Regions from separate parts of the Homo sapiens genome. Here all the other regions are linked to region 1. The links are contacts of gene promoters, found by promoter capture Hi-C in blood cells and fetal thymus (Javierre and others, 2016). All regions are on one chromosome and are shown on one strand. The core of a region is centred on a gene start or on the middle of the fragment in contact, and the rest is flanking DNA. Distances in the headings are between cores, read along the strand shown. Region 1 holds the start of MBNL3 (muscleblind like splicing regulator 3). Region 2 holds the start of SASH3 (SAM and SH3 domain containing 3). Region 3 holds the start of RAB33A (RAB33A, member RAS oncogene family). Region 4 holds the start of PABIR3 (PABIR family member 3).

Evidence for each region. Contacts are between HindIII fragments. The CHiCAGO score rates a contact against its expected background, and 5 or more counts as called.
Region 2: a contact is called between the fragment with the promoter of SASH3 here and the fragment with the promoter of MBNL3 in region 1, in 2 of 17 cell types (naive B cells and non-activated CD4 T cells). The highest score is 8.4, in naive B cells.
Region 3: the fragment with the promoter of RAB33A here is called in contact with the fragment with the promoter of MBNL3 in region 1 in 1 of 17 cell types (M1 macrophages); the score reaches 6.9 in M1 macrophages.
Region 4: a contact is called between a fragment that was not itself captured here and the fragment with the promoter of MBNL3 in region 1, in 1 of 17 cell types (total B cells). The highest score is 7.0, in total B cells.

The regions. Positions count from the first base shown.
Region 1 is chrX:132,487,498-132,490,587 of GRCh38, reverse strand. It overlaps MBNL3 (muscleblind like splicing regulator 3), which reads left to right and starts at 1,550. Exons shown (of 9, transcript NM_001386889.1): 1 at 1,550-1,737. RefSeq lists a silencer at 702-1,271. The HindIII fragment of the contact is 7,236 bases long and covers 1-2,235 here.
Region 2 is chrX:129,778,411-129,781,500 of GRCh38, reverse strand. SASH3 (SAM and SH3 domain containing 3) reads right to left here and starts at 1,552. Exons shown (of 8, transcript NM_018990.4): 1 at 1,347-1,552. The coding sequence starts at 1,403. It overlaps LOC124905215 (a long non-coding RNA gene), which reads left to right. Exons shown (of 2, transcript XR_007068328.1): 2 at 1,222-2,926. RefSeq lists enhancers at 1,202-1,261, 1,312-1,391, 1,642-1,801. The HindIII fragment of the contact is 655 bases long and covers 1,009-1,663 here.
Region 3 is chrX:130,170,435-130,173,524 of GRCh38, reverse strand. RAB33A (RAB33A, member RAS oncogene family) reads right to left here and starts at 1,563. Exons shown (of 2, transcript NM_004794.3): 1 at 1,205-1,563. The coding sequence starts at 1,462. RefSeq lists enhancers at 1,026-1,980, 2,790-2,839 and silencers at 2,100-2,179, 2,350-2,409. The HindIII fragment of the contact is 5,739 bases long and covers 1-2,904 here.
Region 4 is chrX:134,806,048-134,809,137 of GRCh38, reverse strand. It overlaps PABIR3 (PABIR family member 3), which reads right to left and starts at 1,901. Exons shown (of 11, transcript NM_001388447.1): 1 at 1,797-1,901; 2 at 1,430-1,598. The coding sequence starts at 1,539. RefSeq lists enhancers at 43-999, 1,385-1,544. The HindIII fragment of the contact is 1,289 bases long and covers 971-2,259 here.

The sequences.
Region 1 (3,090 bases), core at 301-2,800:
TGTCCATTTTCCAAAGTATCTGGAACCTTACCTCAGGGTTCCTCTTATCCTGCAAACTCCGTGGAAGAAGGGGAACAGATTGCACTGATCAGCATTTCCCTGTCTGAAATTCTTAGAGGGAAATAAACGATTGGGGCATTTATGAAAGATAAAACCCCCAAGAAGGCAGCTGGTGAGTATGAATGTATTTATTTAGCCTGTAGCGAGTGGACTTATTCATCGACTAAGATCAATTTTGAAAGGACCCATTTCGCCTCACCTGTCTGGGAAGTGTCTATGAGCGTCCCGCTGTGAACCACACTGCCTTTCTCACTGGCACTTCAGTTCCTGAAGAGCCAGAAACTTTGCACCCCTACCCCAACCCCGCCTCTGGGGATGTGTGCCTGCTTCGTTTGTTTTCGCTTTTGTAAAATCTGAGCGTTATGATTTGTCCCCCTTTCCCTTCCTAATGAAATGACAAAGGGTCTGTGCAGCGGGGGCTGGGCTGCTGGGTTTGGGGGCGAGGCGCCACACCCCCTGAGAATAAAGCCCGCGCTGCGCTCTCGGAGAACCAGGCACGAGTGAGCGAACCACACAAAGAATATATTTCGCGACGAAACAGCGCCCTACAGGAAGAAAGTGCCCGCACTCCGAGCGTGAGCCGCAGCGCGACTTTTTGGCGCTCTTTGGGAGCAGTGAGAGAGAGGCGGAGGCCAGAGAGTCCGGGGTGGGCGCGGGAGCCGGGGCGGCCCTTGGCCGCATTCCCGCCCGTCCCGCAGCGGCGCGCGGAGCCAGGTGAGGTTGGCGGCGGCGCCGCGCTACCTGGCCGGGCGGGGCGGGGCCGGGCGGCCGCGTGCGCCGCTTCCGAGTCCGGCGCTCCGGATGCCCGCCCGCGCTCCGCTGGCCCGCGGAGTTTCGCGGGAGTTTCCGTTTTGGCGCCTAAAGCCCCTCGCTGGCGCCGTTTCCCTCCGCGTGCCGCGTCTGTCCGGCGCGGGACGCACGGAGGCGCGGCCCCAGCCCGGGCTGCCTGGGGTCGGCGGGGCTGCGCGAGGGGACGTCTGGCGTCCGGCGGAGGGCACTGGCCCGGGAGGAGGGCACGCCTTTGGCAAAGGCCGGGCGGGGTTGGGACCGGGGTTGCTATGGTAGCTGCGAGCCCGGGCGGGAGCCCCACGCCCGGCCTCCGCGAGGGAGCTGGGGCGCTCCGAGGTGTGCTCCGAGTGGACTGAACCAAGAGCCTGGGAGGAGCGGGTAGGGCCGGCCCGTGGCCTTGTCCCCTCCTCCCACAGCCCGCCGGCCGGCCCCGGGAAGGGGCCTCGAGGAGCCCAGAAAAGAAAGTATTCTGGCCCCTGGAACCGAAAGGAGTCTTGCAAAAAGCACGAAGGGGTCAAGGGGGCCGAAGGGAGAGGGGGAACCGTCGCCTCCGTCCGAGAGTCAGCGTGCGCGTGTCTGTAGACTTGACATTTTATACCCCAGAGCGGCCGACTTGGAGCCGGGTTGCAAGTCCCAGCCCTGAAGTTCTGGAGGTGGGGCGGGCTTTAATTTGCTTATATCTAATGATTTCAGGAACCTCGCTTTAAAATGGCGGCATTCAGTATGCACCCCTGCTAAAGGCTCTCCCGGCACCGGGGCCACCTCGCGCAGCGCTGCTTTTGCTTCTGCCGCTAACAGATGGCATGTGCCGCTGTCGCTGCCGCTGCCCCTGCTGCTGCCGCTGAGAGCAGGGCCCCTTAGCCTCTGGGTTTGCGCTAGCAGCGTAAGGTAAGGCTGGAGATGAATTGGGATTTGTAAGAGAGGCTGCCTTCCTCGGACGCCGAGGAAATAATGCCTTTTAAACTTCATTTTACAAAATAGCAAATAGGAGGAAAAGTCATCCTGCAACTTTGTTGCGATTTTAGAGCTTTGATCATTTTCCTCCTCCTTTCCTCCTCCTCCTTTTTCTTCTTCCTTCTCTTCCTCCTCTTCTCTTCCTCCTCCCCTTCCTTCCTTCTTTCTTTTTTTCTACTTTCTTCTTTTTAATTTAAAGGAACTTCTTGCATGGCATATAATCAGCAAATGCTTTTTAACAACGAATTTCCCCATTTTCACGCGATATCGTGAGCAGTGCCACAGCTTCCTTGCAGAACCTTGTCTCTTCCTGCCCTGAGTCAACACGTTTGGGCAGCTCGCTTTTACTACTGGGGTTTGAAGGGCATGAGAGTAGATTTTAGGAGACTATTAAAAAGGGAACTTTAGTTTTTAACACTCACACAATAAGCTTTTATGGTAAGAAAACGAAATTAAACCCAGACGAGTAATGAAAGTTGACATTTAAGTGATTCTTTGTTGTGGTTTCATAATTAGGGTAATAGACCTACTGTGTGTTTTTCTGAGCACTCTTAGATAGCTAGCTAGCTAGCTAGCTAGCTAGATGATAGATAAAACAGATAAATTAATTGTGGCTCTAATTAAAGTAATATGTTTTAAAGGAGTTATTTTCTCCTAGATGTTCTTACATCGTTTGTAAATTGAGCTGGGATCCCCACAGCCTCTCCGTATTTGTGGGTAGACTTCATGGGAAAGAATCAATTAAAACAAAACTTGCAAGATTTAATTTTGAAGTGATTGGTACTTTTTTTATTAAGCGGACTCCCTGCTTTAGTGAATAAACGTTTGGGTGATTACTGATATAATGTTTGGAAAACAGATTGTTGGTATGTGGGAATGACTAAACATCCATGCTTGATACAATTTATCTGAATTTTGTTTTGTTTTGTTTCCCCCTCCAGTGAAAGGTAAATAGACAATGAGGCTTATCAGACACCTTGGATTTTTCCTGATTATATTTCCATCTTCTCCTTGGCCCATGAAAATCTAATCCTGAATGTTTAACTACTTTTTAAAATAATTTTTAACTTTTTTCTAATGTGCGATACTTTTGGGGGATGCTTTCATATTTACCAACACTTCTTCAAATATAGACTAAAATGGGCTTCTGCCCACAGCTCAGCTGATAATATTCTATCGCTGTTCACTCCTTCTCCCAAAGCAGTAGAAACTACTTGGTTGGCAGACGCTCTGCTACTAAATTTAGCAAGTGTGTGGAAAGGGAGAAAAATATTGTTTTGCCCTTAT
Region 2 (3,090 bases), core at 303-2,802, 2.7 Mb after region 1:
AGTGGCCCTGCTCTCTTAGGAGTGGCAGCCAATGGCAGTCCTGCTGGGCCTAGCACCCTGCAGGGTTTGGACGGGGATGACAGAGCCCGTGTGAAGATTCATGAACCTCCCCCCTCCCCCGCCCACCACCACTGCAACCTTAGAGAAGCAGCTGGGGTGGGGAGAATACAGCCGGAAGTGGCAGCCACCCCAGGACCTGAGAGCTGGGGCAGGATGCACACCCCACTGCCCCGAGTCTCAGTCTTTCAGCTGCCTTGGCCTCCATCTCTGAGCTACTCCCCTGACAAGGGGGATCCACCATAGGGCACCTGGGCTGAGTTCCAGGGAAAATTGGCGGGGGATAGCCTGGGCCTCTTGGACCTAGTTCAGGCCTGCTTTGGGACTGTCCTAGCATCCCATTGGATGTGTAGGATATACTTGCTGATTGTCTGGGAGAATCCTTCAATTGAATTAAAGAATTAGGTCTAGAAATCCTCAAACCCAACCAAAGAAATCTGGAAATCCTCAAATTCAACCACAAAATCCTAGATCTGGCACAGCCTTCAAGGATTCTTCCAGTCCGGTCTCTGCCCCAGGGGGATGAACACCTCAGCCATCCATGACAGCTGTTTTTCCTCCTGGCCTTTAAAATCCTCCCTCCTCAGCCTTCACTCCTACTCACCACCTCAACTTAATTTCTCATTCCCCACCCAGGAAGAACCTGTATGCCCCCTGCATCCCACTGCACTTCCGGATGCCTTTTCCCCCAAGACTGGAATGGCCTCAGGCCCCCATCTCCAGGTTGGCTCCATCTCGGGTAGGGCCTGGGAGCTACCACAGAGCTGAGCCAAGTGGGCAGGGTCTGGGCCATGGCCAAAGTGGAGGAGGGGGTGGCAGTCCTGTGAGCATCATGGCTCCAAGCTGGGCAGCCCAGCAGGGCCCTTTGAGTGAGATGGCTCCTGAGAGGCCGTGGCCGGGGCAGAAGTGGCAGCAGGACCAGCGTAGAGGAGAGATAGTTAAGTACAAGCTTAGGGTTCAGCTTAAGCATTGTATTTTGTTATTCTCAAATTCTAGTCTAAGATTCTGGCCCCTAATTTTAGATCTTTTTTCCCATTCTTCTAGGGTTGAATTGCATGACTCTAGATTTCTAAGGATCTATTCTGTAACTCTGTTGCTCCAGAATTTTAAACATCTCTTCTGTACTTCTGTTAACCTTTGGGTCCCTGTCCCGTTGCCTTCTAGGTGAGTGGCCCTCACCTACAGACTCAACATATGGCCTTTGGCTCTTCCCACTTCCAAGAGTCTTGGAAGGGATGGGTCGAGCAAGCAGAGGAAAGGAAGATGTGAGTTCCCAAAATGCTCCTCACCTTTTTCTTCTGAGTGGGCTCCTTCTCACTGGCATTGGAGGGCTTGCGGCGCAGCATGGTCCTCCACCCTGGGAGACTCCGTCCCTGCTCTCCTAGGTGTCAAGATGCAGAGGCCTCTTGCTTAGCCTCACCAGAACTGCCCGGGGGCACGGCATGAACCGAGCCTTCAGCTGCCACTCTGACTGCTGCAGTGGCAGCTTGGGGGTGCGGGCCATGGACACCCGGCAGCAGCAGCATACAGGAAGCCCTGCCACGTGACCTACTCTTACAGCAATCGCAGCCCCTGCCGGCCCCTAGGGAGGAAGGAAGTCCAAGCTTCAGTCTCCAGAGATTCTGATGCAGACGGCTCTTGGGTTGAACAGTCAGAGAAAGTCCCTACCTTGTTGTCTCATGTCGATCATCATCAGTCCTTCTGCTCCATCTTCCTAGAGGTGGACAATCAGCTCGACATTATATGGCGTACCCAAGCCCTTTATCTCACTGACCAGAATCCAGAAACCAGAAGTTGGACCATCTGGCTGCCTGTTGGATCAATGCTCCCGGTCAACTCACGTCTTCAAGGTCGTCACTGCCATCACTACCACTACCATCACCCCTGTGACCATCACCACTGCTACCATCACTCCTATCAATAGCCATCACCATACAGCCATCACCCCTACAGCCATCAGGCCTGCAGCCATCCCCGCTGCCATCAGCACACCTATAGCCATTGTCACTATGGTAATCACCTCTACAGTTGACATCCTTCAGCCATCACCTCTACAGTCATCACCATTGCTGCTATCACCCTTCCAGCCATCATCCTTACAGCTGTCACCCTTCTGGACATTACAGCCAACCGCACTCATGACCCTCTCACCCCTATAACCATCGTCCCTACAGTCATCTCTCCTACAACCATCATCACATCCGTGCAGCCATCAGCCCTGCAGCCATCACTCCTACAGCCATCAGTACACCTAAAGCCATCATCACTAGAGCAGTCACCCCTCCAGTCAGTACCCCTCAGCCATCATGAGTATATTTATCACCACCACAGCTGAAAAGCACTTACAGCCAACTCCACACCTCTAGCAAGTATCCAACAGGCATTTATCAAACACCTATGCAGTATATTCAATTTGTGGGTTGTCTGTGGCAGATTTTAATAACTTTAATAACTTCTTGGTATTACAAAAGCAACTTGTATTTGTCATACAATTTCACAAACACATAAACAAAAAAAATTTCAAAATTTCCCATCATTGTCCTCTACACTGTTTTAAGCATCTATCTACTCTCTGTCTATAAACATTTTTTTTCTTTTTACAAAAATCATACTGCTCAGAAAACAGATAATTGGTTTGGGGAGAAGGGGAGGGGAGAGAAGGGAAGGGAGACATCACACAGGGTAACAGGAAGCTTTTAGGAGTGATGAATATGTTCACTATCTTGACTGTGGTGATGATTTCATGGGGGAATACACATGTCAAAACGTATCAAATTGTATACTTCAAATATGTGCAGTTTATTGTAGCTCCATTATACCTCAATAAAGCTGTTTAAAATTTTTTAATTAAAAAAGGTCATAATTCACACTATTGGTGTCTGCTTTTCACACTAAACACAGTATCTTTTTTGTTTTTTTTTCGAGATGGAGTCTCTCACTCTGTCTCCCAGGCTGGAGTGCAGTGGCGTGATCTCGGCTCACTGCAACCTCCACCTCCTGAGTTCAAGCAATTCTTGTGCCTCTGCCTCCCAA
Region 3 (3,090 bases), core at 314-2,813, 2.3 Mb after region 1:
AGGAGTCAGGAGTCTCGCACAGTTTCAAGTGTTTCATCAGTTTCATCAGTTACTCAGCCCTTCTCTCCACGTCACTCAGAGGAGGGGCCTTGTGGTCACTTTGGCAGTTTGACCAGCAAGAAGGAGGCTTACTGTCACCCCTGACTCTGTCTAAGGTCCAACCATACGCTCAAGGAAAGGCCAGCTGTGAGCCTAGAGGAGTTGTCTTCAGTGATCCCAGTGCCTTTATAGAGGCCCCCCTCTGCTCCCCATGACACAAGAAGTTGCCCTTGTTATGTCCTCCCTCCCGCCATCCCCTGCACATTGACATATTCCTGTCATATCAGGTTTCTACCTTTTCTGAATTAAAGGTGAGCACAAATGGTCAGACAAGAATATTTGCACTTAGCCTATTACATAAACTCATGGAGGGGGAGGATTGAACATTCCCCTGGCCCTCGGTTAAGTCACTGCATTTTTACAAAGACCTGAAGACAATACCAACAGAATGAATAAGGAGCAGTTCATGTATTAGATGCCCCAGACAAGTAAAGAAGATATCATTCCAGGGGGGCTGTTACAAAAAAACAAGTTTTGTCTATTACGAAGGGCTGGACCCTGCCTCAATTTCTTTAAAAGGGCTCATGGCTTTCTGCCAGAACCACCCCACTCCACCGCCATCTCAACTCAGCCCTAATTTTTTAACTATAAACTGCAATTTAAAATAAAGCAGCTTTTTCATTCTCCATGGATTTCCATCATTTCCTTCCCTCTAACGCCTTGAGGCTTAGCCAAAGTGGGGTTTTGCAGCCTATCGGCACCCAAGCAGTAGAAGAGACATCAGGATGTGTAAAGTGCTTTGGGATCCATCCCAGAGACTAGGACCCACAGATGCCTCCTGCCTCCCTCTGCCCACAGGTGCCGCTGCTCGGGGTAGGGGTCATGGATGGGAATCCAACATGCTTTTCCTGGCAGGACCTGTCAGGCAGGGGCTAAGGGTAAGAATGCAACCCCATTCTCAACCGCCCTAAAAAACTGAGTGAAGTGGGGACGGGGCCCCGCTGAGAGAGGTGAAAAGGGGTGAGGAGGAGCCGAGGGTCCTCGGCTCAGCAAGAGGCGAAACCGCCACGCGCTGGACGCTGGACGACGACAACCGCTAGAGCTATGCCTCGGGCGAGGTCCCCTCCCGGGTCCCACCCTTCCTGGACCTGACCCCCTGGATCACCTTGATCTTCTCGCCCTCGATTTCCACGGTCTTCTCCCTGAAGTCCACGCCGATGGTGGCTTCAGTCTTGTCTGGGAAGGTACCCCCGCAGAAGCGGAAGGTCAGGCAGGTCTTGCCCACGTTGGAGTCCCCAATCACGATTATTTTGAAGATGCGAATCTGCACGTACTGGTCCAGCGACGAGTCGAGCTCCAGGGACGCCAGGCCAGCGGCCGAGGCGGGCTGCAGGCTCCCATGGCCCAGGATGGGCTGCGCCATCTCCCCCGGACCGAACCGGGGCCCCAACCCCCCTTGAGGGCTCCACACAAAGAGAACGTCCACGTTCGTGCGCTCGAGGCGAGCGAGCTCTGTGCGTGTGTGTGTGCGCGCGTGTGTGTGTGTCCGCCCGTGTGTGCGTGCGCCGGCACCGTGTGCGCGCGCGCGCGTGAAGGGGGTGCCTCTCACTCCGGGCCCCCCTCCTCCTCCTCCAGCGCACCCTCCTTGCAGCTCGGAGGCACCAACACAAAAGCCAGGGAGAGGAGGAGAGAGGGAGGAGAGTGGACGAGCCGCGAGCCTTCTGCCTGTGTGCGCCCTCGGACCGGATGCTCTGGCGAAGGACCCTACCGCGCTGCTCCAGCCGCCGCCGCGCCTCGGCCCACACCCTCCCCTGCCTGCATTCCCGGGACGGACCCGAGGGAAGAAGCCTCAGGAGGAAAGAGACGGGGTGGGGACAGCGGCACACGCCACCCCGGGATAGACTTCTTTCTCCTTGCCCCCGTTTATGTTATAGGTTTCGGGCTCCCCACCCCCACTGGCTCGAGCGCACGGGGTCAGCGGGCAGGGAGCACAGCTGGGGAGGACAAAGAGCTGCACCTTAAGACATCACTGGATCACTTCGGCCTCCCTGGAGCAACGCAACTCTGCGGGGATGGGGTGGGGGCGGAGGCACCTCTTTCACCTCGGGAGCAGCGGGCAGCTGAGCCGCGCCTTCCCGGTCCCCGCTACCCCGTCCCCTCTACCCCCACCCTCTACCCGACCCGCGCCTTGGGATAAAGGGATGCTCTGTCTTAATGAGTGAGCAGGTGCACTCGCGGGCCCCAGGCAGCCTGGGAGGCCGCTGCCAAGACACGCAGTGGGTTGTCCGGGGCCTGTACAGCTGAGAGGAGGGAGCCAGCGGGCACGCGTGTGCGTGTGTAGGGGGTGTAACTGTTTCTGTTACAGACTTGCCAGATGTAGGGGGGCGCGTACCAGGCGCCAACATCCCCTTATCACACCACGCGCACCCATCCTCTGAATGTTCAGGAGAGCGGCTCCTATTGGCTGCCGCAGTCGGTTGTGTTTGGCTGGCCAATGGGGAAGGCCCGCCGCGGGAGAGGGCCACACAGAGGCTAGGAGAAGGGGGGGAAGCTAGTGGTGGCAGTTCCAGCAAAAGGGGACTTTGTTTACGGGGCTAGCCATTACTGGCCCAGGTGGAGGATCTTGGGACAATGGCATAAGCTCCACAGTGCCTTCCATTCCCAAGCCCTCCATATAACCATAAGTCCCTCCAGAACGCTGGAGTTTCAGAGGGAGTTGGGAATCCCTAGGAGGGTTCACCTCCCCCTGCAGCTGAATGTAGAACAAAGTGGTTGGGTCTAATTTGCCAGAAGCCTAGATTATGCTTGGAAGATGATAAATGAACACAACCTCCTTACAGTATTAGGGGGCTGCTGCCCAAAGCTTACTAATCATCACACACATCTTGGTCAAGACCAGTATTCCTTCTCCCTAAAGTCATTCGCGGGTTCAGAATTTGTTTGAAATCGACTTTACTGGGGGTACAATTTACATACGATAAAGTGCACCCATTTGTTTCTTTTAAGACTTTACCTCTCCCCCTACATATTTCATAAGCTAAGGTAACACTG
Region 4 (3,090 bases), core at 366-2,865, 2.3 Mb before region 1:
AGAAATACAGTTAACCATCATTTAGTGTAGTGTTTCTAAATCCTTTTTTCATTATTGACCCTCTAAAAAGCCTTTTTAGACATTTTTCCCCTAATTGCTCCCCCTTCGTGAAATTTTAATAACACATATATAGTATATATCTGTGTACATACTGTATGTATATCTGCGCTTTATACATAAAAAGAGTAAAAATTTTTCACACTCCCCCAAGAACTATTTTCTCTTCCCCTTGGGGGAAGTATCACCCAGTGAGAATGTGTAATTTAGGAGATCAAGCTTCTGTGGTACCAAAACTTTCTGCTCCAATAAAAAATAGGTGTAGGCCAGGAGCAGTGGCTCACGTCTGTAATACCAGCACTTTGGGAGGCTGAGGCAGGCGGATCCCCTGAGGCCAGGAGTTCGAGACCAGCCTGGCCAACATGGTGAAACCCTGTCTCTACTAAAAATACAAAAAATTAGGCCGGGCACGGTGGCTTACGCCTGTAATCCCAGCACTTTGGGAGGCCGAGGCGGGCGGATCACGAGGTCAGGAGATCAAGACCATCCTGACTAACACGGTGAAACCCTGTCTCTACTAAAAATACAAAAAATTAGCCGGGAGTGTTGGTGGGCGCCTGTAGTCCCAGCTACTTGGGAGGCTGAGTCAGGAGAATGGCGTGAACCCGGGAGGTGGAGCTTGCAGTGAGCCGAGATCACGCCACTGCACTCCAGCCTGGGCGACAGAGTGAGACTCCGTCTCAAAAATAAATAAACAAATAAATAAAAAATAAAAATACAAAAAATTACCAGGTGTGGTGGTGGGCGCCTGTAATCCTAGCTACTAGGGAGGCTGAGGCATGAGAATTGCTTGAAGCCAGGAGGCGGAGGTTACAGTAAGCTGAGATCGTGCCAATGCACTCCAGCCTGGGCGACAGAGCAAGACTCCGTCTCAAAAAAAGACAAAAAAAAAAATGTAAAAAAGTCCAAAGCTTATTTGCTTGACAACCATTTCCATTCAAGCGGCTGGAGGTGAAGGTCAGAGGTGACAAAGCAGCTGAAATGACAAATATTACAGTCATGGCAGAAGATCTGGAGGTGAGTGGGGGAGGATACTAAGTTTCTTCAAAGGAGTGGGTAAGAAATGGGTTGAAGTTAGAAAAAAGCCGTGCTCCACACCAACTGGCTGCTACTTTCGGGTCCGAGTGGACTATCAGGGGAGGATGTTCAGATTCAGATGTTTGTCAACCTCAGGGTGGGTGCGCGCTCCCCCTCAGGTCAGCCCGTCCCACTACCCCCACCCAAGGTTGAGGGTGGGATCTCCGGACACCAGGAACAAGGGAGTTACCTGCAGAACCTCAACAAATAAAGGGACGGGAATTCTATAGGAAATCACTTTCCCGAACACCTCCTCCCCACCGCTTGCCTCCTCCAGTATCTCAACCCGGCTCACCCAAGTCCATTGATCAAAGGGGCACTGTTGACTCTTCTCAGAATGTTGCCGTCTGCGGTAGTGGAACTCGGCAGCGACTTGAAACCTAGTTTCATTTTCTCCTGTGCCATGTCCGGGTCGAGGAATAAGTTCTCAAGGCTTTCCGGCTCCCGTCCACACAAGGACAAGTCTACTTAGTGGGCAGGTGATGTAAGGAGAGAGGCAAAGGGGAAAAAGAGAAGAGAGGAGAAAGCTCTTAGGCGAGTAGGGGTGCCCACCTTTGCAGCCCTAGCAGCCCTAACATCAGTGAACACAAAGTTAGGCAGAACTGGCTCCGAACCGCCTATCTCCCATGATCGGGGCCTCTAACGATGAGAAGATCCCCCACCTCCAAGTCTATAATGTAACTGGGGAATTTAATCTGTCACCGCCGCGAATCCTTCTCCATCTCTCTCAGCCCTGGCAACTCATGGTAAGCCTTTCCGGCCAAAACAAAAACTACAATCTGCCGCCTTTGACAATCAGTTGGGTCCCGCCCCTCAGAGCCTGCGATAAGCTATCAGCCGGACGACGCCTGTTGTGATGCAGGCAATGACGTCACTTCAGGCGCCTTAGTCAGCTTTGCCAGGGGCGCACGCGCAGTTAAGAAACCGCTTTATCCCCATGTCCTGCCCTCCTTCCTCTTTCCCCAATGCCCACTTACCGTGGTTGTGCCTCTACTCTTTTACTAACCCTGGCATGGTTTCCTTAAGCATTATTTAGAAATGAAAGCGTTGGGAGGAGTGAGGTCCTTCCTGCCCTATGCCTAATTCTCATTTTTCTTATCCCTTTATGACTGAGGCCAACAAGCTTCTAACCTCCTATGATGCATTTTTCCATCCTGTAACAGCAGACACACTACACCTTTGTAATTTTAGAAAAGCAAAAGTCTGAAAAAAAAAAAAAAAAAAAGATACTGCTACCTAAGTGCTTAGAGGCCACTTGGTCCCAAAGGGTCTTGCTAAGGTGCTAACCTAACTGAGCTCATTTGGCAAACGAATTACTGTTTTCAGTGTGGTTTCTTTCTTTCTTTTTTAAACCATAATCGTACAGTTTTTTGTTTTTTTTTTTTTGAGATGGAATTTCGCTCTTGTTGCTCAGGCTGGAGTGCAGTGGCCGCGATCTCGGCTCACTGCAACCTCCACCTCCCAGGTTCAAGCGATTCTCCTGCCTCAGCCTCCCGAGTAGCTGGGATTACAGGTGCTCGCCACCACGCCTGGTTAATTTTTGTATTTTAGTAGAGACGGGGTTTCACCATGTTGGCCAGGCTGGTCTCGAACTCCTGGACCTCAGGTGATCCGCCCGCCTCGTCCTCCCAAAGTGCTGGGATTACAGGCGTGAGCCACCGCGCCTGCCTCAGTGTGTATTTTTACATTATATATAATCTGGCTCCTCACAGCTATTCATATAAAAAATAAAGACCTCAGCTAATTTACAAAGATTTGAGTTAAAGCAGTGAGGCTTTTTTAAAAACAAATATCTCAGAATTTAGTATCAATGCAAATCAGTGTTTTCATTTCAGGTAGTATTAGAAGCTACATACATTCTAAGAATGCTGCCATGGCTCATATCGTTTTAAGAACTACTCTTTTAGAAATTTTCACCATCACTTAATGAGCCACACTGAGTACTGAAATCTTAAC